7 separate regions of the Homo sapiens genome follow, and all the other regions are linked to region 7. The links are contacts of gene promoters, found by promoter capture Hi-C in blood cells and fetal thymus (Javierre and others, 2016). All regions are on one chromosome and are shown on one strand. The core of a region is centred on a gene start or on the middle of the fragment in contact, and the rest is flanking DNA. Distances in the headings are between cores, read along the strand shown.

Evidence for each region. Contacts are between HindIII fragments. The CHiCAGO score rates a contact against its expected background, and 5 or more counts as called.
Region 1: a contact is called between a fragment that was not itself captured here and the fragment with the promoter of EDEM3 in region 7, in 2 of 17 cell types (total CD8 T cells and non-activated CD4 T cells). The highest score is 5.8, in total CD8 T cells.
Region 2: a contact is called between a fragment that was not itself captured here and the fragment with the promoter of EDEM3 in region 7, in 1 of 17 cell types (non-activated CD4 T cells). The highest score is 5.1, in non-activated CD4 T cells.
Region 3: a contact is called between a fragment that was not itself captured here and the fragment with the promoter of EDEM3 in region 7, in 2 of 17 cell types (total B cells and naive B cells). The highest score is 7.8, in total B cells.
Region 4: the fragment with the promoter of IVNS1ABP here is called in contact with the fragment with the promoter of EDEM3 in region 7 in 9 of 17 cell types (naive CD4 T cells, total B cells, neutrophils and 6 more); the score reaches 9.3 in naive CD4 T cells.
Region 5: a fragment that was not itself captured here is called in contact with the fragment with the promoter of EDEM3 in region 7 in 1 of 17 cell types (fetal thymus); the score reaches 5.8 in fetal thymus.
Region 6: a fragment that was not itself captured here is called in contact with the fragment with the promoter of EDEM3 in region 7 in 9 of 17 cell types (naive CD4 T cells, total CD4 T cells, total B cells and 6 more); the score reaches 17.1 in naive CD4 T cells.

The regions. Positions count from the first base shown.
Region 1 is chr1:183,954,636-183,957,350 of GRCh38, forward strand. COLGALT2 (collagen beta(1-O)galactosyltransferase 2) reads right to left here. Exons shown (of 12, transcript NM_015101.4): 7 at 127-203. Among named protein-coding and RNA genes, the nearest start is that of COLGALT2, 82 kb to the right of the region's middle. RefSeq lists a silencer at 1,197-1,361. The HindIII fragment of the contact is 916 bases long and covers 952-1,867 here.
Region 2 is chr1:185,293,638-185,296,337 of GRCh38, forward strand. No RefSeq gene overlaps it. Among named protein-coding and RNA genes, the nearest start is that of IVNS1ABP, 22 kb to the right of the region's middle. The HindIII fragment of the contact is 2,040 bases long and covers 406-2,445 here.
Region 3 is chr1:185,703,704-185,706,403 of GRCh38, forward strand. No RefSeq gene overlaps it. Among named protein-coding and RNA genes, the nearest start is that of HMCN1, 29 kb to the right of the region's middle. The HindIII fragment of the contact is 889 bases long and covers 980-1,868 here.
Region 4 is chr1:185,315,921-185,318,620 of GRCh38, forward strand. IVNS1ABP (influenza virus NS1A binding protein) reads right to left here and starts at 1,323. Exons shown (of 15, transcript NM_006469.5): 1 at 1,033-1,323. CBSLR (CBS mRNA stabilizing lncRNA) reads left to right here and starts at 1,532. Exons shown (of 4, transcript XR_007066771.1): 1 at 1,532-2,357. RefSeq lists enhancers at 649-1,262, 1,912-2,011, 2,262-2,341 and silencers at 752-811, 1,272-1,581. The HindIII fragment of the contact is 11,176 bases long and covers 1-2,700 here.
Region 5 is chr1:184,048,914-184,051,613 of GRCh38, forward strand. No RefSeq gene overlaps it. Among named protein-coding and RNA genes, the nearest start is that of TSEN15, 1.5 kb to the right of the region's middle. RefSeq lists enhancers at 1,736-2,671, 2,424-2,533, 2,594-2,700, 2,602-2,700. The HindIII fragment of the contact is 1,077 bases long and covers 786-1,862 here.
Region 6 is chr1:185,673,910-185,676,611 of GRCh38, forward strand. The region is part of intron 1 of LOC107985239 (a long non-coding RNA gene); the gene reads left to right. Among named protein-coding and RNA genes, the nearest start is that of GS1-204I12.4, 29 kb to the left of the region's middle. The HindIII fragment of the contact is 1,620 bases long and covers 575-2,194 here.
Region 7 is chr1:184,753,585-184,756,284 of GRCh38, forward strand. EDEM3 (ER degradation enhancing alpha-mannosidase like protein 3) reads right to left here and starts at 1,274. Exons shown (of 20, transcript NM_025191.4): 1 at 905-1,274. The coding sequence starts at 1,062. It overlaps LOC105371649 (a long non-coding RNA gene), which reads left to right and starts at 1,590. Exons shown (of 3, transcript XR_922357.4): 1 at 1,590-1,949. RefSeq lists enhancers at 858-957, 1,428-1,527. The HindIII fragment of the contact is 1,960 bases long and covers 908-2,700 here.

The sequences.
Region 1 (2,715 bases), core at 160-2,659, 800 kb before region 7:
AGAGCCATTTCAGCAGCCAAGCCAGTCTTGCTGGCTCTCAGATGCAAGCTCAGGCTTGTGTTCCAAAATGAACACACAAGCCTGCACACGCGTGCATGTGCACACACATATAGACACCTTTCCTACCTCATCAAATCCCATCTTGTCTGGATATTTAGGGACAACTGAGACATACTGGGAGGGTTCCATTGGAGGACGGTCAACTGGAAGACACAAGAAACATGCAGAGTGCTTTGTTAATGAAAGGGTCAGAAATCAGAATTCCATCCGCATGCCTGATCTCTAGGGTTGGAATATAACTTGGAAATACAGGGCAGGGGACAATGGCAGCAGTTCTCCAGGATTGAGTAGCCACACAGGAACCCTGCTGGTCAGGGCACTGGTTTCAGGAGCATTTGATTATATGGAGATTGCAACATTTGCTCCACTTCCCTTAAGACTTATTTCAAGAATATTTGGGAGGCAGTTTAGGATAATGGTTAAGAGGAAGGGCTCCAGAGTCGGATGATCTGGGTCCAAACCTTGGTTTGCGAAGGAGTAGGAGAGTTAGGGGACCTCTTTAAGCTCATTTCTTTGGTGTAAAATTGGGATAATAGAAGTGTATCTGTGTTATAAAATTTAAATGAGACCTGCGTGCAAAGCACTCACCACTTTAACACAGTAAATGCTCAACAACTCTTAGCTATTACTTACTATGGCCCATGATGAAAGAGCTCAGAAATAGGCTAGAATTTTTACTGAAAAACACTTTTTTCTCTGCATTTAAAATTGTCAAAGTGGGGGACTATTTTTATCCCACCTGGGCAGGTTTAGGTGTGGGTGCGCAAAAGGTCCATTGCTTTAACAGGATCTAACCACAGAGAGCTGGCCCATGTCTAATGGGAAGATTCCAGCTGGGAGTGACACTACTTCTTCAATAATGAAAGTTTTATTTATTTGATACTCTAAAAAAGCTTCCTTTGCAAACTATGTATTTTAAAGTTTGGAAGTAATATTGGTTAAGAAACCTGAAAAGGCCTTGAAGAATGTTTAGTATTATAAAAATTCAAAGTCCTCGAAGAATGTTTAGTATTATACAAATTCAAAGTCCTCATTTGATTTTCCTTAAAGGGATAATACAAAGAAAATTTAAAATGATAGCTGGTAACTGGGTTGTTGAAAGAACTATGGGTAATGGCCATGACTACTGTAACGTATCTGTTCACCTCTATTCCAGGCACAGGAGAGGAATACACTCTCTTGCCCTTGAAGTTACTCAGGGCTATATGACTTTCTGGGGAAAGTTTATAGTGTGGTGCTGCTGCTCCACTCTCCAAGGGCTCCCCCGACACTGCCCTTGGTCCCACCACTGTGCTCATAGCGGCATGTGTGGATATGGATAGCAGATGTGAATTGGAAGCAGCCTGGAACATTGCATCAACACATGAAGGGCAGCTCCCAGGAAAGACACCTGCTCTGCAGACTTGGATAGCAAGAAATAAGCCATTGTTGTATGAAGCCAATCAGATTTTTATATTCCAGCATAACTTTGCCCATCCTGAGATACTGTCCAAAGGGTATGATCTGTTTAACTTCACTGAAATATTATAGAGAAATCCTGACATCCAATTTTACTTATTGGCGAATGATGTGAAATTCTAGAACGTAGTGAGACAGAGTTCTTAGGCCAAACACAAGAGCTGGTCTCATTACTTCAAACTTGACACTTACAGTCATATTTCTGTGCATATGCAGTGCATGTCTTTGTCTTCCCAATAGCAGCCGAGAATATTCTGGTCCTTTCTGCTCCACTCCACTCCTTATTAGTTTCTTTTAAAATCAATAGGGAGGGTCCACCAGGTACACGGTTAGGTTTTTAAGAGAAAGAAGCTTAATGTACCAGCTTCCTCCTGTTCATGATATTGTCTGAGGAGCTGTCTCACTCTCCCTCCTGGGGCCTGAGACTTGGGAAGATGTTATATTTTGAGTTACCCATTCTAGGCTGCTGGTCTCCTTTGGACTCACATGGCCTGTGTGGCTTTAACATTTCAGCCAAAGAGACTGCTTTTAGCCACTTTGTTTCCATCAAACATAGGCAGTCATTGCATTCACAGGACAAGTGTTGCAAAAAAAAAGCCACAAGTGGTTGGCTCCCGAAAGTCATCACTGAGCAAAAATATCAGAGAAGTGTGCTTGGGTTTTGCCACTGAAGGCAGCAGTAAGCCACAGAGGAAAACAGGAAGTGATACAGTGAGTCAGACCTAAGAAACTTAGTCTGTGGGGAGAAGGATGTATCTTTGCTGACAACAGACTTGAAGGTTAGGTATATCCTGGCTTCTGTTTGTAGTCATTTCTGACTCCATCTTTCATAATTGATCTGGTCTCTCATTAAATCCCTTCCTGGAAATAATCCTTCCCTGTACTGCCACTTGGGACAATGGGCTTCATTGCTTTCGGGATAGTTTCAAGATCTAATGTGAATAATTACAGCCATTGTTACAGAGGTCTTATCACTCACAGAACCCAGAGTTCTGTGAGTGATATATATATATGTCACATATATACTTGACATATATAATCACATATATTTAATGTTCACATGTACCATGGGATATGTATGAGTGTCTCTATTTTTATAGACAAGGAAACAAACATTAAATAACTTGCCCAAGATCACAGAGCTGATAGAGCTGGTATTTGAACCTAGGTCCTACTCCTTTACCGGAGCTCTTAATT
Region 2 (2,700 bases), core at 176-2,675, 540 kb after region 7:
AGATGTTGGCTTTCCTGAGGGTTTTAGTATTATATATACTTGTATTTTTAAAAATCCATCTCTGTATTCATGGAATTCTTTAATATCTTTGGCTGTTGTTAAAAGCAAGAATTGGCCACCCTGAGGGTTTGTAGACTAGTTTTGGCCTGTGACAGGAATCCTTTTTAATTCTAGCTTTGTTTATGAACTAGATGTAGTTTGTCTCAAATTAATTCTCGATGTTGAAAACACTGAGGACAGATTCTTGAGCAGAATTACCAGTTATAAGCCTGGAAGGTGAGGTGGTGGACACCCAAATCCGAGCTACTAGCTTGGTTCAGTCTTCTTAAAGCACAAACCATTTTCAACATCCTATTCTTTATTTCTAATGAGGTAAAATATGGACATGTTCTAGCCCTTCTTCTAAGCTTGATATTTTAAAGGTTTGGTACCACTTTGGTTAAGCTAGAAAAACAAAACTTTTTTTCCTTCGTAAGTGTAGAGTTCTGTGAGTTCTGTCAAACATGTAATCAATCAATCATCAGCAGTCAAGATATTGAAGTCACACCACCCCTAAAAATTCCCTCATGTCCCTTTGTAATTAACTCCCATTCCCAGCTCAGGAGGCCATTGATGTGTTTGCCTTCCCTGTAGTTTTTCCTATTCCTGAATGCTATATAAATGGAGACTGTTTTTTTAAGAGACAGGGTCTTGCTATGTTGCCCAAGTGCAGTGGCTGTTCAGACATTATAGCATACTACAGCCTTGAACTCCTGGGCTCAGGCAATCCTCTCACCTCAGCCTCCTGAGTAGCTGGGACTACAAGTGCATGCCACTATGCCCAGCTAATGGAGGCTTTTGAGTCTGGCTTTTTATTTAGCATGATGCTTGAGACTTATCCATATTATCAGTAGTTCATTATTTTATTCCCAAGAAGTATTGCATTGCCATGGATGTACAAATTTATTCATTCACCAGGTGGAAGGCTACTTCACTGAATTCAGTTTTTGGTGATTATGAATAAAGTTGCTATATTCACATACAGGTTTGTGTGAATATGTTCCTTCACTTGGGTAAATACCTACGAATGGGATTGCTTTGTCACAGATTATTAGAAAATGGATGGATTGTTTTTTAAACTGCCTGTGCACCTTTGCAGTTCCTCCAGCAATGTATGAGAGTTCAAGTTGCTCTGCATCGTAAGCAGAATTTGGTATATTCAGTTTCAATAGGTGTATGCCATTTTGGTTTTAATTTACATTTTCTTAATGATTTATGATAGTATTTTCCTGTGTTCTTATGGCATCAACTTCTTTTGCAAAGTGTCTTCAAATATTTTACCCATTTAAAAATCGTTTTAACAGATCTCATCTTATTACCTTGCTGGACATTTCATCTCAGTAGTTTCATTACTCCAAGTTAGGTCTTTCTGTGTGCCTTTTTTTTCTGGCTAAAATTATGTTACTTCCTTTGGTCATCCTGAGCAAGTGTGTGGCCTCTATTCAGATATATGCCTCTGTTAAAGGCATTCCACACAGATCCAGCATAATGATTGAGTTTTGCTTCTCACCTTTGTTCTCTCCACCCAGTAAGGTGTGGAGCTGTTAATAAAGTTCATTATTTTATTGGCCAAGATTATTGATGCTCATAGGTTGAAGAACCCATGACATTCACATGAGTTTGTATGTTCCTGTTTATAAACTCTACTTGTTCAAAGTGTCATTAATATTCTTGAGAAACTGGCAGTTTTATTATGAAGGATATCTGCAATTCATAGCAATTACTCCTTTTTAACCTAGAGACACTGATTTAACTTAATAAAACCTGTTTATAGGATGAAACTTGTAGCTCAGTCTTACCAAGGATTTAAGGATTCATATATGAGTGTTTTTCTTTCTCCTTTACACCTAGTTAATTAACCTTGTATCTTATGTCTCACTTGCTGACTCTTCAGACCTTTTTTTTTTGGAACAAAAAGCAGCTGCGTGTAAATTACGACAGCAACTGAATTTTCCATGAATCATATTCACTTTTCTGAAGGCAACTCTGCATGCAGTTACAGAAATGTCCTACTGGGGCTCCTCCTTTGCCTACTTCAATTTTAAGAATTCTGAGGTCAGGAGAGGTAATAGGGCACACACCTAATTTGTTAATTAAGCAAGGATTCTAATGATATATCACATACTCAAATCCTGGATTTTCCCTAAAATATGATTATTATATTGGGAATTTGAAAACATGTTGAGCAGTGGTAAAGTACATGACACACTAGAAGCCAAAAATCAGAACCCTACATTTAAAGTTCATAATAAAAGATCCACCCGAGTATAACCAATAATATTTGGTTTAGATATTTTATAGCTTTTCTACCTTTTTAGGAAATTTAGAGTGTTTTATTAAGTTGACCAGAAGTGTGGTATTATCAATATTATTTTGAAACTATTCAAAAATTCCTACTGGTTAAAAAGCTTTTTTTTTTTTTTAAATTGTGCTGAGGCTATGCCATTTTCTCCCTCTCTGAAGAAAGTATGTACCTTTTAGATACAGATTAACAGTAACAAATGGCCACTGAGCACTGCTTTTTTTCCTTTATGGAAACTTCTCATGTTCATGCAGACTAGCTACAACAGCTTCTTAAAAAAAGATACTTTTTGGCCACCAAACTACCTCTTTGGCATCCAAGGTAATGCAGGAAAACTTTGACCCAAAGTATTCCCATAT
Region 3 (2,700 bases), core at 174-2,673, 950 kb after region 7:
TTGCTGGTGTCTTAGAGTTCTACTAGGTCTGCTTCTTTATTCCTTGGATAAGGAAATCCTATCCGAGTGAGATGAATAGGTTTCTCTAAGGTGGCACACTACTAATTGTGCCAAAGTCTTGCTTAATGTACCACACTGCTTTAAGCATTTGTGTTGAGAAAAAGAAAAGTTTAGAGTATTAGGGGGTTTTGCTCCTTAAAAGGTCTTTTATGAATTATTTTTTACCATGGAGAATCCTTCTGTGAAGAGAATAACTTTCCCTTTTATACCTTTTCTGTTCTTACTATTTTGAATCTATAGAATTCATCATATACCTCAACTTTTTTGTCCATGAAAATATGCATCATCTGACTTTGAATAAGTCACACAATAATAAATTCAGATTAGAATTGTCCACACCTTTGTTTCTTCTAAATTTTGGGTATGTAAGCCTCTGATAATTCACATGACTTAATTAAGCAGAAATCTGGCTCCAAGTGTTGCCAGATGGTCACTATATGGATGAGTAAGACATTAACAAGGTGCAAAATGGGCTAAACCAACAAGCCCATTCCTTCAGAGTCCAACTTTGTTGTTTATTTCCCCTGGTGGCAGGAAAACTGGAATGAAACCATATCTCGTATGTGCGATGCTAGCCAGACATTGTGTGCATGTGGTAACAGGAGCCTTATCTCTCAGACCATTAATAAGGATTGGAATAAGCAAAGAAAGGGAAGCCAATAGCAATTGTTAGAGTGATTTTTGAACTCATTACTCATACAGCTGTATAAGAGACTTTAGAACTTCAGCCGACTTATCTTGCTGCAGCAAGTGGCAGTTGTACTTGCTCATGCCAGTGGCCTGAACACAAGAATGCTCAGGTATGAGAAAACACATAGAAAAGGCTGCTATAAGAGATTAATTAGAAAGTGATCATTCATGTTGCTAAATAATTTTTCACTTTCTAAAATATTAACTATGGTAATTATTTTTTCTACTAAGCTTTCTCAAAGCTACTAACATAATTTTAAGAAAATGAAAACCATGAGTTGCATGCAAATATAAAATAAACAAGTCAAAGATTCTATTCAGCTTATCTATTAAAGAAGGAATCAGTAAGATGTTTATGCTGGTTGCAAAAGCATTTGAGGACTTAGGCATTTATAAGCAATTTAATAAAGGAATGTCAGGATAAGATTGCTACACTGCATTAAAAAATTCTGGTTAATATCCTACAGGATACCATTACCTTTGGGATAATCTGTTCCACAAGCCAGACTTTATTTTCATTTTTACTGGACAAAAATTTATAAGTTTCGTGGTAATGTCACTACGTTTGAGACTTTTAATCAGTAGTATATAGTAAATCAAATTATATTCTCCTGGATAATCCCTTGGGAAATCCCTTGGGTAATCCCTTGGGTAAATCTTAAACCCATAAAATATTGGAAGAACTTGCAATCTACTTTTTTGTTTCTTCCTTTTTTCAATTTTGGATGCGTTTCCTTATCAGGGCATTTAATACATTTAAAAAATTAATTATGTGCTTTTTTACGAACATAGGCATTATATAAATATGTAATAACCATCTGGGGAAAATCAAATTATTAGATAAAAATAAGAGTTGTATACAGAATGACAAGTACTTAGAGGAATCCTTTGAGATGAGGTAATATGGACTGAAGCCCCCCTTGGATTTACTGCTACTATTTATTGAATGCTTACTATGTGTTGGTTGTCACATTAGGTGCTTTATAAACACTATCTCTAATGACTTTGAAAATAATTCTTTAATGATAACTGAAGAGCTGGGAGTCAGATAACTTCCTGAGGTCATACAGTTACTGAGTATAACAGCCATGGCCCAAACTCTGACTGTTGAGCTCTAAAGCTTGTGCTAACTTCTGTGCTCTGCCTCTTCTCACCATATCACTACAGGGGTAAGAATCTTACAATTTTGCATATTTAATTTTAAGCATAAATATTGACCCCTAATACTTGTTTCAGTATCAAACCTGGAGCTGATATTTAATGGAGATTTACTGATTGCTAGACACCGTGCTAGTGCCTTGCCCTAGCTGTCATATTTAATCATCCCAACAACCCCATGAGGGGGATCAAAAAGCACTATTAGTTGCAGGTTATGACAAAACACAATAACATTTAACTAAAGCACTATTTACTATATTTAAAAATTCTCCAAGTATCTTGTGTCATGTTGTATCTATAAAAGAGAGTCTCTTTCTCTCTCATAGTTTACAATTCAAGAGAGACTCTGTAAAAGTGAGAACATATTGACATACATAAAACTATGTAAACATGAAACAGAAACATAGATTAAACAGAGATGTAGATCATGTACCATTAAAAGCTTTCCTAAAACATTGTGAACGTTTCATAGAAAAAAAATGTATCAATGGTACCTTCTATCTTTTGGGAAATCATGAGCTTGCTTTATTATGATAGTGCAGAGAATAGTTGAATAATTTGGACTCTATGACTCTCAGCCCTAAATTCAGAAAGTGTAGTTATATACCCCAGTGTTTTTTATTTTTTTAAAAAAACCTCTAGGCAGGAGATATTTTGGTAGGACACAAGACCACAAATTTGTCATACTATTCATATTTTATTTTCTATTTTTACTATAGTGGATAATCCCCAAATAACTATTATGGAGTTAATCTATCACCATCTCCTTCCTATATCTTTTCTGAGGGAAGG
Region 4 (2,700 bases), core at 73-2,572, 560 kb after region 7:
CACAAAAATGCGCCCTTTTGGACATCTGATTTCTCCTTGAAATGTCAGCTGTCTCAAACCAATAGATATGTCCACTACCTATTGGGGGAAAAAGTAAATGTAGTTCTCAAGTAGTGGTTCAAGTTACCCTAGGTTCAACCCTCAGCCTGATACCTTCCTATCATCAAGAGCTTATAATCAGAGACACTTAACCAAAAGCGTGGAGGGACGGAAAAAGAGCAAATCTTGCCACTGATTTCTTTCATAAAAAAGAAAGAGCGTCCCAGGCCTTCCTCCTCGCGCAGCCAGGCCGGCGCCCACTCCGCAGGCTGCGAGGCGAGGCCCCCAGCACCCGCACACCCCCGCCCCGGATTGGCCAGCCCCGCAGTCACTCAGTACCGACACGTCAGGGCAGCCGCTCCCTCCCTCCTCCCGCCCCCTTCTCCCCGCGCTTGGCAAGAAAAGCGGGCAACGTGGAGCGGGAACAAAGGACCCCGCGGCCCACGGCGATCGGGGACTCCGTGCCACCCTACTCCAGGCCCGGGGCTGGCTGCCCGCCCACACGAGCCGAGTCTCGAGAGCTCTTCCAGAAGAGAATCCCAAACCCCAGGCAAACCCGAGGCGAGGCGTCCGTTCCTGACAGCAAGAACGGGGAGTCCCGCGCCCTCCTTCCGGCGGGTCATCCCCGCCCGCGGCGCCCTAACCCAGGCCCCCCAAAACCCTTCGAACAAAAAACTCTTGTTCCTCCCAGCCTGCCTCACCCGCGCCAGTGTAGCAAAGGGGCTCCAGCCTCCGCGCTCTCCGAGGCGACCGGCGCCCGCTCTCGGCCGCCAACGCAACTTGGCAACCATGGCAGCGCTGGAGCGCGGGCCCAGCGCGGCGCGGGCTTCACGTCCCAGAGGGCGGCGGCGGCCGCTTGGGGCTGCCTCCCCTGATGAGGACACCGCTTCCGCGCCTCCCACCCTCTTCCCATCCGCCGGCGCCATCCCTTCTTCTCGGATTCTAGCCGCGCCGTCTCCCTCATCTGTCGTTCGTAGAACCAGCGCGTATTACCTGGTTCATCTCTGAAGAGATGGAAACATTCATTTCTAGAGCTTCGATGGGAAGCAGGAGGAAGCGGGCGGGAATCGGCCCAACGGAAAGCGCCAGAAGGCGGCGGAAGACGGGAGCGGTCAAGTAGAAGGACGAGGGGCCAGTCCGTGGAGACTGAAAGGAAGGGGGAGCGCCACCGAGAACTCGCGGGAACTCGCTCGCTCGCCGATACAGCCGCGCCGAAGCAGCAGGCGGAGAAACTGCGCCCAGCAGCTCTGAGCGACCGACCTCCACGCGCGACCGGGAGACACTGCCTCCGCCGCCGCCGACCGCTCGCGCCGCACCCCCTCGCACGTCACCACGTGCGCTGCCGCCGCCGACGCCTCCCAGCCCGCTTCCGTCTCGAATCCATCTGCAAATCACAGGCGAGCTCCATAAAGATCCCACTCTAAGCCCCGCCCCACCCGCGGCCCCGCCCACATCCCGCCCCGCCTTCCTCCCTGGTCTACTGGGGTTCCTTCCTTCTCGGTGTAACTAGGTCAGCGCAAGGTGATCCTGAGGAGATAGGCGGCGCTCGGGGGGCGCCCTCGTTCCTCTTATCGCGCCTTTGTCCCTCCCTCCGTTCCTTGCCCCGCACCCTCACTTTCGCCGCCCTGTGCGTTGCCTGTCCCGGAACTGGTTCCCTCAAGCCGCCCTCACCTGTTCTGACTTCCCCTCGAGGCACAATAGCCTGAGAGATCAGACGTGGGAGATTAGATTGCTCGGCGTCAGACCTACTTCTAGGCAACCCCCCCTAGACTGGAGCTGCTCGTCGTGGACATTAGGATCTAGTTGGGCATGAGCCCTTAACTTAAGGGTCGGGGGGGAAGTGGCGGGTGCGGAGAGGAGGCGTGGAGAGTGTGAGGAAGAAGAGAGGCACTCTGAGAAGAAGTCGAACAACTAACCCCTCATTTGGCCTGGTTTGGGTGAGAAGATTGAGTCACTTGGGGAAAAAAATATTGGAGAAGTCAGAGAAGGTGTAAATCAGTGGTGCCACAAACACCAGTTTACTTCCACTTTTCACCCCCCGGGTCTGTTTTGTCTGCGTGCAGCTCTCCTCGTGTCGGAGACGCTGAGTCAGTTCTCTACTGGTCTTGCCCTCTTCCGGAAAAAGAAAACACACCTGAGAAGTGGTAGTTCCTATCCTAACCTACTGGGGCCCTTTATACCAGGTGCCAAACTTCATTATCCACCCCACCACCTTGCCCGGGAGGGAGATCTGTGAAAGCGAAACGTGATTTAAGCTGGGATCTGGCAGCAACTTCGTGGACTCTGAAGGGCACGTGGGAAAGGAGTTTTGATTGAAGGTGAGGGATTTAGTGAGGTAAAATTATATCCAAATTAGAGTTTGGTAAAGGCTTCCAGGTTAATGTCCTGTTAACGCTTATCCTGATTTGTGGAGGACACTTAAGCTGTCTAGGCCTAACCTTGTGTTTGATCACTCACCTTAATTTGTAGACATTCTAGGAGCTCTTTGTCAATGCCTCTTACCATTTTTATCATTAACTATTTATGCTTATAGAAGCAGGAAAAATAAATTGTGGGAGCCTTCATCTGCAATAGGTTTACAACTTTTTTTCTAAAATCTTGAGGCAAGGAGACTTATTCCCCCGCCCCTTTTTTTCTCACAGATTTCTTGTATGTCTCCCT
Region 5 (2,700 bases), core at 74-2,573, 700 kb before region 7:
TCCTCCAGGATACCAGACACTGAAACTCTCCTCTGTTCTCTAGTGGATTTCACTCTAGATTGTCACAATAGGTATTTTGATTCTGTACTTTAAATACTGGGTTGTCTAAGTGTTCCCAAATCCTTTGTGTTCATTCTTAGCCATTCACAATCACCAAGACCTATTTAAAAATTTACATTAACAGGGAAGCTAACAGACACTCCCTTTTCATTCTTCAACTCTTTTGAAAAGCACGTAATACTCATTCTTGAATGTATCATGCTTTTTCTAAGCAACAGTATTTAATCTATTTGCCAAAGGATGGCATTTATCTGTTGCTTTTTTGGTTTATGGTTCTTTCCATACCCCCAATTATTTTTTCTTGAACATAAGCTGAAATTCTTCCCCTGCAGATGTTTGAGGCTGGTTCATATAGTCCCTAATCCCATTGGATATCCTTACTGATTTATAAAAGTTTCCCTCTACTCAGATTAGCATCAAAATACTCTTAATGCTTTTAAAAATGCCATCATATGAACTGATTTGGATCTTTAGGAGTCAGAGAGATTTATTCACTTCCAATCACTTGAATTCGTGTCAGTGTTTCATGCTTCAATGACCCAATTAATTTCAGTGCCATTTTCTTCTTTCGGGCTTAGCAGCTGCTTTGTGGTGGCAAAGGTTCATTCAAATGTAATGTATTTGAGGGCAACATATGAATCTTCATGTGTGGCTTTACATTTCATTCAATAATAGATGCCCTTCTTTTCCCTGTGTATGATGTGTTATTTCTTTTGATGCATTCAAGCTTTTCTCTTTATTTTTTTGACTTTCAATAGTTTTATTACAATGTAGACTTCTTTGTGTTTATTTTAGTTGCTATGTATTTAGCATTTTGTACTAGTAAATGTGTTTTTCATCAAATTTGGGGAAATTCTGGCCACCACTCTTTCTTCAAAAATTTTTTCTGTCCCTTTTTTTTTCTACTTCTGTTGTTTACATGCATGTTGGATTGTCTGACATGTAGCAAATCTCTGTTGGTCTACTCACTTTTTAAAGATAATTTTTCTCTTTGTTGTTTACTTTTAATAATTTCTATTGCTCTATCTTCAAGTTCCCTACTTTTTCTTTTGTAATTTTTTTTGGCTGTTAAATTCACCCAGTGAATTTTTTATTTCTAAAATTATAATTTTCAATTTTCAGAATTTCCATTTGGTTTTAAAAATCTTTTTTTTTCTTTTTCTTTGCTGAGATTTTCTATTTGTCTCCTGAGATTTTCATTCATTGAAAACATGTTTTACTTCATTGAGGATAGTTATAATAGTCACTTTAAAATCCTTATCTGTCAGTTTCAATATCTGATTCATCTCAGGGTTGATCTCTAGAGTATGCGATCCATTTCCTTGAATTTCATATGTCAGATAGTTTTGGATAGTACTCTGGACTTTGTGAGTGTTAAGTGGAGAGTCTGGATTCTATTATTCTTCTCTGATGAGTGTTATTTCCTTTGTATTAGTAGGTAATTTTCCCGGCTAGATTTTAACTGAAAACTCTCTCCCTTTTGGAGACAGCTCTGGTCTCAGTTCAGATCTTTTGTTTTTAACTGAGCTGCTGTGATTCTGTTTTGGGTGGTTCAGGATCTCTCAGAGATGTGGGTTGACAGTTTGGGGATCCACTCTCTGACTCCTTCCTTGGGATTTCTTAATCTCTTCAGAATTCAAAATTTTCTGTCTTCACTTTTCTGCTTCCCCAGACAAGAATAACTGATAAGTTTTATACATGCATCCCTGGTACTGCTGAGCCTGACTTCTGGACTGCACTTTGCCCCAAGCTAAATGCCAAAGAGAGGAGAATTTTCTTGTGGAGTTCTTGATCTTCAAGCAAGCTTGCCCTTCCTACCAGTCTGCTGTTCACATTCCAGTATATTCAGCTTTTTGTATTGTGTCCAAGTGTAGTTCCTGATCTTCAAGCAAGCTTGCCCTTCCTACCAGTCCACTATTCACATTCCAGTATATTCAGCTTTTTGCATTGTGTCCAAATTGTTTTCTGCTGGGGGATGGTCCACTAGGGTCTTAGTCTATCATGGTTGAAAACAGAAGTTATGTCCTGCCTGGGACTTTGGATTTTGAGTCACCCTTGTCCTGGTCAATGCGATAGCCTCCTAACCAGTCTCTGTTTGTGTCCTTGCTCCCTCCAGTCTATCCTCAACATATCAGTCAGAGTGATCCTATGAAAACGTCCAGGAGCCTCCAATAGCTTCCCATTTCACTCACAGTAAATTAAAAAATACTTAAAATGTGCTACTCTGCCTGTTTGAAACTCCTCATCCTTGGCTTCCAGATCACATGCTTATGCTAGTTTGTATCCTACCTTTCTGAACACTCGTTCAGCAACTCGTGTTTCCTCTAATCCTGAAACGTGGGTCCACCCTGAAAGTATGGTTCTACTTTAAAGTTCTATGTCAGGGCACTGAGTAAGGCCTTTCCCGTCCCCAGCAATCAGAAACCAGGACCCCACTGCTGAAGGCAAAGAGGACGTATGTATCCCCCAACTTTCTCAGAGAGTTATCGGCAGCACTGACTTAAAGAGGATTAAGAGCTTCAGGGCGCAGGCTACTCTTTAATATTTTTCACGTTAGAATTTGCTCAGATTTGAATAAACGCAGAGCGAAACTAGAGAGCGTTCGCGCAGGTTCTAGCTACCTTGGTCAGAAGGAGGGGC
Region 6 (2,702 bases), core at 135-2,634, 920 kb after region 7:
CCACCTCCCTCCACCTCCCAAAGTGCTGGGATTACAGGCATGAGCCATTGCGCACGGCCCCTGATTATAAAAGTTTTAAATAAGGAAAGGCAATTATTTAAAAAATAAGAAAATGCAGATGCCCAGGGTTTGCTACTGGAGAGATCTGATTCAGAAGGTCAGTAAATTGAATTAATACATTAATTTTGTATCTTTCCTTCAGCTTCTTTGGAACACTGAATATGAAACACAAAGTAGAACTTCAGAACTGATGAACTATTATTAGAAGTGGTTTGATTTGAAAATGTGGAAGTCAATTGTGGGAAGAGGGCATAAGGATGGAGATAACTATGTTTAAAACTTATTTTGAAAGTAGACAACAGCTAACATTAGTGTTCCGTGATGACGGGAAGTGGAGACAATGCAGCTGCTAAATGAGTCCCTTTAAATATTGACATGACTGACTCTAGTGCGACATGTTTAGTAGGAAGTGGGAGAGGAAGTAAAAATAGACCAAAGCAAACATTTGCTCAAGATAGACGAAGAGCAATACATCCTCTCTGTGCCCCTCCACCCCTATGAAAACATGGCTCTAAGCTTCTGACAACTTTTTTTCTCCCGTTTCTATTGTTATGGTCATGGTCATGATTTAGCACATTCTGGTGACTTTCATATATGCTCCTCTGACCAAATTCTAGATAAATGTTTTATGTTTACATTGTCACAACTCTTCAGGAATGAAGGTTACTCTCTCCCTTCATTAGAGACCGAAAATAAATGTTCAGCAGTAGAATCTTTTTCAACATTACTTTAAAAACGCAATCTCAAGGGGTCTCAGTTTTAAAGATTATGGAATTATGTATAGACTCCTACAAAATAAATGGGAGAAGTGGAGGCAACTGCTTAGGTTCCTGAGGACAGATATTGTTTTTCTGAAAGTTTTAGTTAATTGAAGCAACAGTCAGTAAGATCTGATGCAGTTGGACGATAGCTCTGTTCTCTACTGTGTCTTTCATGCATGATGTGGACAAAAATTCCTGTAGAGAAATTGAAAAACAGAGGAATGAACAGAACATGAAAGAAGTTTCTTTTATCTCTCTTTTAATAAGTGAAAATAATGGGCTATGAAAGTTAACTCACTCAAACTATATAGGATGTTAGGCAACAATTTTTCTATGTAAAGTAACTGAATTCATTGCATCTCAGTTTCTGTTGTCTGAGAAAATATTCCTAGAGGCATGTCAGGTAGGATTTGTAGAAAGATGGTAAACACTTTAAGAAGGGTCCACTTATTTCTCTCTGTCTCTTCTCATTGTGCTGAGTAGATGCATTTAGAATTAGATTGCATTAAAAATTTTTAAATGGTAGGCATTCATTGAGCGAAATGATAAAAATTCTTATTCTCTACTTAACTTTCTGCTTCATTCTTATTTAAACTGCACATTTTATTTAAAACTAAGTACCTAAAAATGAACAATGTGCTGGTGAGTGTATCCGTTCTTCTGCCTAAGCACACCTTGGTAAGGAATGATAGTAATAAACCCTGAGAATATATGGGAAGTGCTGTTCTAAAATGAAATCATAAAACTTACACAAAATGACAAGCAGGCAGCTTGAAGGAGAGGGAAATGGTTCTGAAATATGGGCAGAATTCTGGCTTACATCTTGGCACTTTCAGGAGTTGCAGTATGGAAGAAAAAGCAGAGTTCATGTGAATTATTTGAATTTTGCTAACTGGGATAGGCTGGGGAAGGTGTGTCATAGTCAGATTAATAGCATAGGCTTTGAAACTTGACCAGCTTGGGTTTGAATTGTAATAGGCTCTACCCTTCTAGAGCTGGTGTAAATAAAGTGCTTAGCACAGTGTAGCATGCAGCAAGTGCTGAATAAATGGTACCTCTATTCACAAGGGAGCAGATACCGACGTGAAGTAATCTGATGTTAACTGGTAGAGTTCTCCTGTCATCCACCCTCAGCATCTCATTTCACAGTATATGAAGTGCCATCTTAAGTTTTAATTTCTTCACATCTTAAAGCCTTTTTAATCTTCCAAAAGTCAATTTTAAAAGGCTCTGGATCTCTTCTTATCATTAGCTAGTATAAATAGAGGTCAGTTTAATTTTCTACTATGTATTTTAAATGATCAAAATGACAATTCATTTTATTAATAATTACTAAAAGTACCTATATTTTTGGAAAGTATACATCCAAGATAAGCTTATTAGGAATTAGCTGTGTCACAGTGTTTTTCAAATTGTGTTTCACTTTATTATACTATCTATGATATCTGCTTTGTAAAAAAAAGTTGCCATAATCTAATAAGGTTGAGATATGCATACCTGAAGACTCACAATGCACATCAGCATATTAAAGTTCTGAAACTATTCTACAGAAAAGAAACCTTTGCTTAACCTAGAATTTTCCAAACCAATTTGACTAGAGACTACTGTTGTTAGACAACATCTGTTAATATGCCATAGTTACATTTTGGTTTAAGACTACATTCTAGTTTAAGAGATTATTTTCCAAACTTAATAGTTAACTGGGAAAGTCAGACTCTTTAGGAATAGAGCATAGATTAGGCACTTGTGACAAGTGGATAGCAGAGAGGATCCTAAAAGGGAAGGCAAGAGGATGACAGTGAACTCTGTCCTACATAAAAAGAGCAGAGAAGAGATTCATGCAACTATTAGTCTACTTATAGTTTAGTTACATGCTTAGCC
Region 7 (2,700 bases), core at 24-2,523:
CTCACTAAGCCTTTTTTTTCTATTCCTTAACTAACCAGAACCGTATCCTTGTGTTTTGTATTATATTTACTAATCTGATGGGCAAAAACCAGCTAGCTCCTCGTTTTAATCTGCATCTCCTACGTTTATGGAGGTTGAGTAACTTTTCATGTTTATTTACCACTTCCATTTCCTCTTCTGGCTTAACCGTTCATGCCTTTCTCCCATTTCCTACTGGTTCTTCGCTTTTTTCTTATTCATGTGTAGGACCTCGTGTATGTATTACTCTGAATTAAATGGTGTAAATAGAATTGATAATTTTAACACACTTCCAAGACGGATAAAAACTACTGAATAGGTATACTTGAGACTTTTGAATAATTTCCCCCCAAACATTCTATTATGAAAATACAGTGCAAGAAAACACTGCAAGGAAATAGTAAAATGTGTAAAGTTCAAGTTCCAATGAACGCCCCCTTTTCCGTAACAGGTGTAAACATCATTTCCTTAACTACTGTGAGATCAGCAACATTTTCCCAGTTGGAAGCTCACTTGCGCGAGAAAGCTAACCATGCTTCGGTCGACAGGCAGCCAACCGCAGAACTCCAGCGCGCAGCGATGCGGGCTGTAGCCCCCTTCTTGGGCCACTGACATGGCAGCCGCGTTGACACACCGCGCCTGGCTTCAAGGAGCCTGCACATGTCACCGGCGGCCAGGGCGACACCCCGTCAGCTCCCCCGAGGTCAGGTCGCGGGCGGCGGTTCCCACCTCCCCGGACCCTGTCCACCCCTCTAGGGTTCTCGCGCGGGAAGAGCCGTTCCAATCGCGACAGGAGAGGCCACTACGCGACCGGGTCGCAATGACAGGCACCCCTCCTGTTGTCAGCCTCACCGAGAAACCCACCCCAGGCTGCCAGCACCCTTACCCAAGCTTCTGTTTCTCCTCCCTACTCATGGGCTCGGCCCCCGCCGTCCACACGGAGGTGGCCGACACCAGGCAGAACGCGGCCGTCGCCGCCACTAGTCTCCATCGCGCTCGCTGGGGAACCGGGGACCCACAGCCCCGGCCGCCGGCTTCGCTCATGGCCCCGCGGTTCCGCGCACGCGCAGCTGCTACGCCCGGCCGGTGAGACACATTGCTGGACGCTGGTGGCCAGGGGGCTGCTAGCCGTGCCGAGACGGGGCGGGATGCGGAGTAACACGGACGGCCGCCGGCGCCAAACTGTTTCCCGAAGCCACCAAGCCGGTCCCCAGCGCCAGCGCTGCCACCGCCCTCCGCCCTCAGTATCCCGGAGCGCCTCCCCCAGCTTTCCGGTGTCGTAGTCTAGGAAACCGCCTCCCCAACGTTACTTCCGGGTAGGGCCGAAGCCGTAGAGCCTCAGGACCAATGGAGACCTCATGGGAGAGGGGCTGTCTCCGGCGACTGGAGAGGGCATTGGCCAGGAGAAGTGAGACGTGGACAAAAGGCGGGACTGGGAAGGGATCTCTCGCTTCGACCCGCCTCCGACCCGCGGAGTTGCCCCCTGAGGACTACCAGTCCCAGTGTGCACTGCTTCTTCCCCGGCTCTCCCGCGAGCCGACTCGGAGCCGTGTCTCTCGCTTCTACCCGGGGTAGGCGCGCTGCACCCTGGGACTTGCGGTCCTCCGAGGTCGCCAGTGGTTGCTGGGATCCCACCTCCCCCTTTCCTCGGCGCCCTACAGTCAACCCTGTCTCGGTGGGCTGCGGAGTCCCGGGAAACCCGTCAGCTGTTTATCTCTCTTCCTCAGAAAGTTGTTTCCCAGAGAGCTGGCTGAATGAGGCGCACTGTCCCCATGTCAGTGCTGCTGCGTTAGGGAATAGTGTTGGAGTAGTCGTCTACCCTCAGGGAAATTCCAAAACACAGTAACAGCAAAATGAATTGAGCCTTTGAAGGCATTGCGCTAAGGTTTTTACTCGCAATCATCTCATGCACTCTTCTCAACTCTGATAGAGTAAGTACCACCATCCCCCTTTTGCAGACGAGAAAACAGAGGCTTAGAAAAGTTGGTTAACAAGAGCTCGTCACACTGCTGTATTAGAATCCATCCAGCCTCTGATTCGGAAGCCCTTGCATTTAACCACCGCGCAGTACTACAAGGATGAAGGAGCACGTGGGTCCTCGTACATGATTAATAATAGTTACCTCAAAAGCTCAATGTAAGGAGAGCTGTGTGGGCTGCAAAGAAGGTTTAATGAAGGAGATTGGAACTTGCAATGAATTTTGATGACCGAGTCCCAGGTTAACTATTGGTAAAATGACACATCGGTTCCTCTTGAAAAACCACATTGTTTTTCTAGTGTGGTCATTCAATAGGTGCGGAGTTTAGGAGCTTCGATGTGATCTCTGTGACCACAGTAAATTACTTACGTGTCCTTTAAGCAGTATTCGGCGGTCTTTCTGGAAACGTTTCTTCCTTGACTTTTATCACCTTACCTCTTACCTCTTAACCTCTTACCTCTTCTCTGGCTGACCCGTTTTCCTTCATTCTCTCGCTACTTTATATTAAAATACAGGTGTTCCCTTAAGGTTTTCTTTTTGTCCTTTTTCTCTCTGTACTCTAATTATTCCTTGGTGATTTCTTCTCATAAGGATTCAGCCAACATATCTCTGTGGTTGATTTCTAAATCAATATCTGTCCTGATCATTAGACCCACATTTCCACCTCCCTAATAGAAATGTCCTAATGTCTAGCCCAAGGGTAG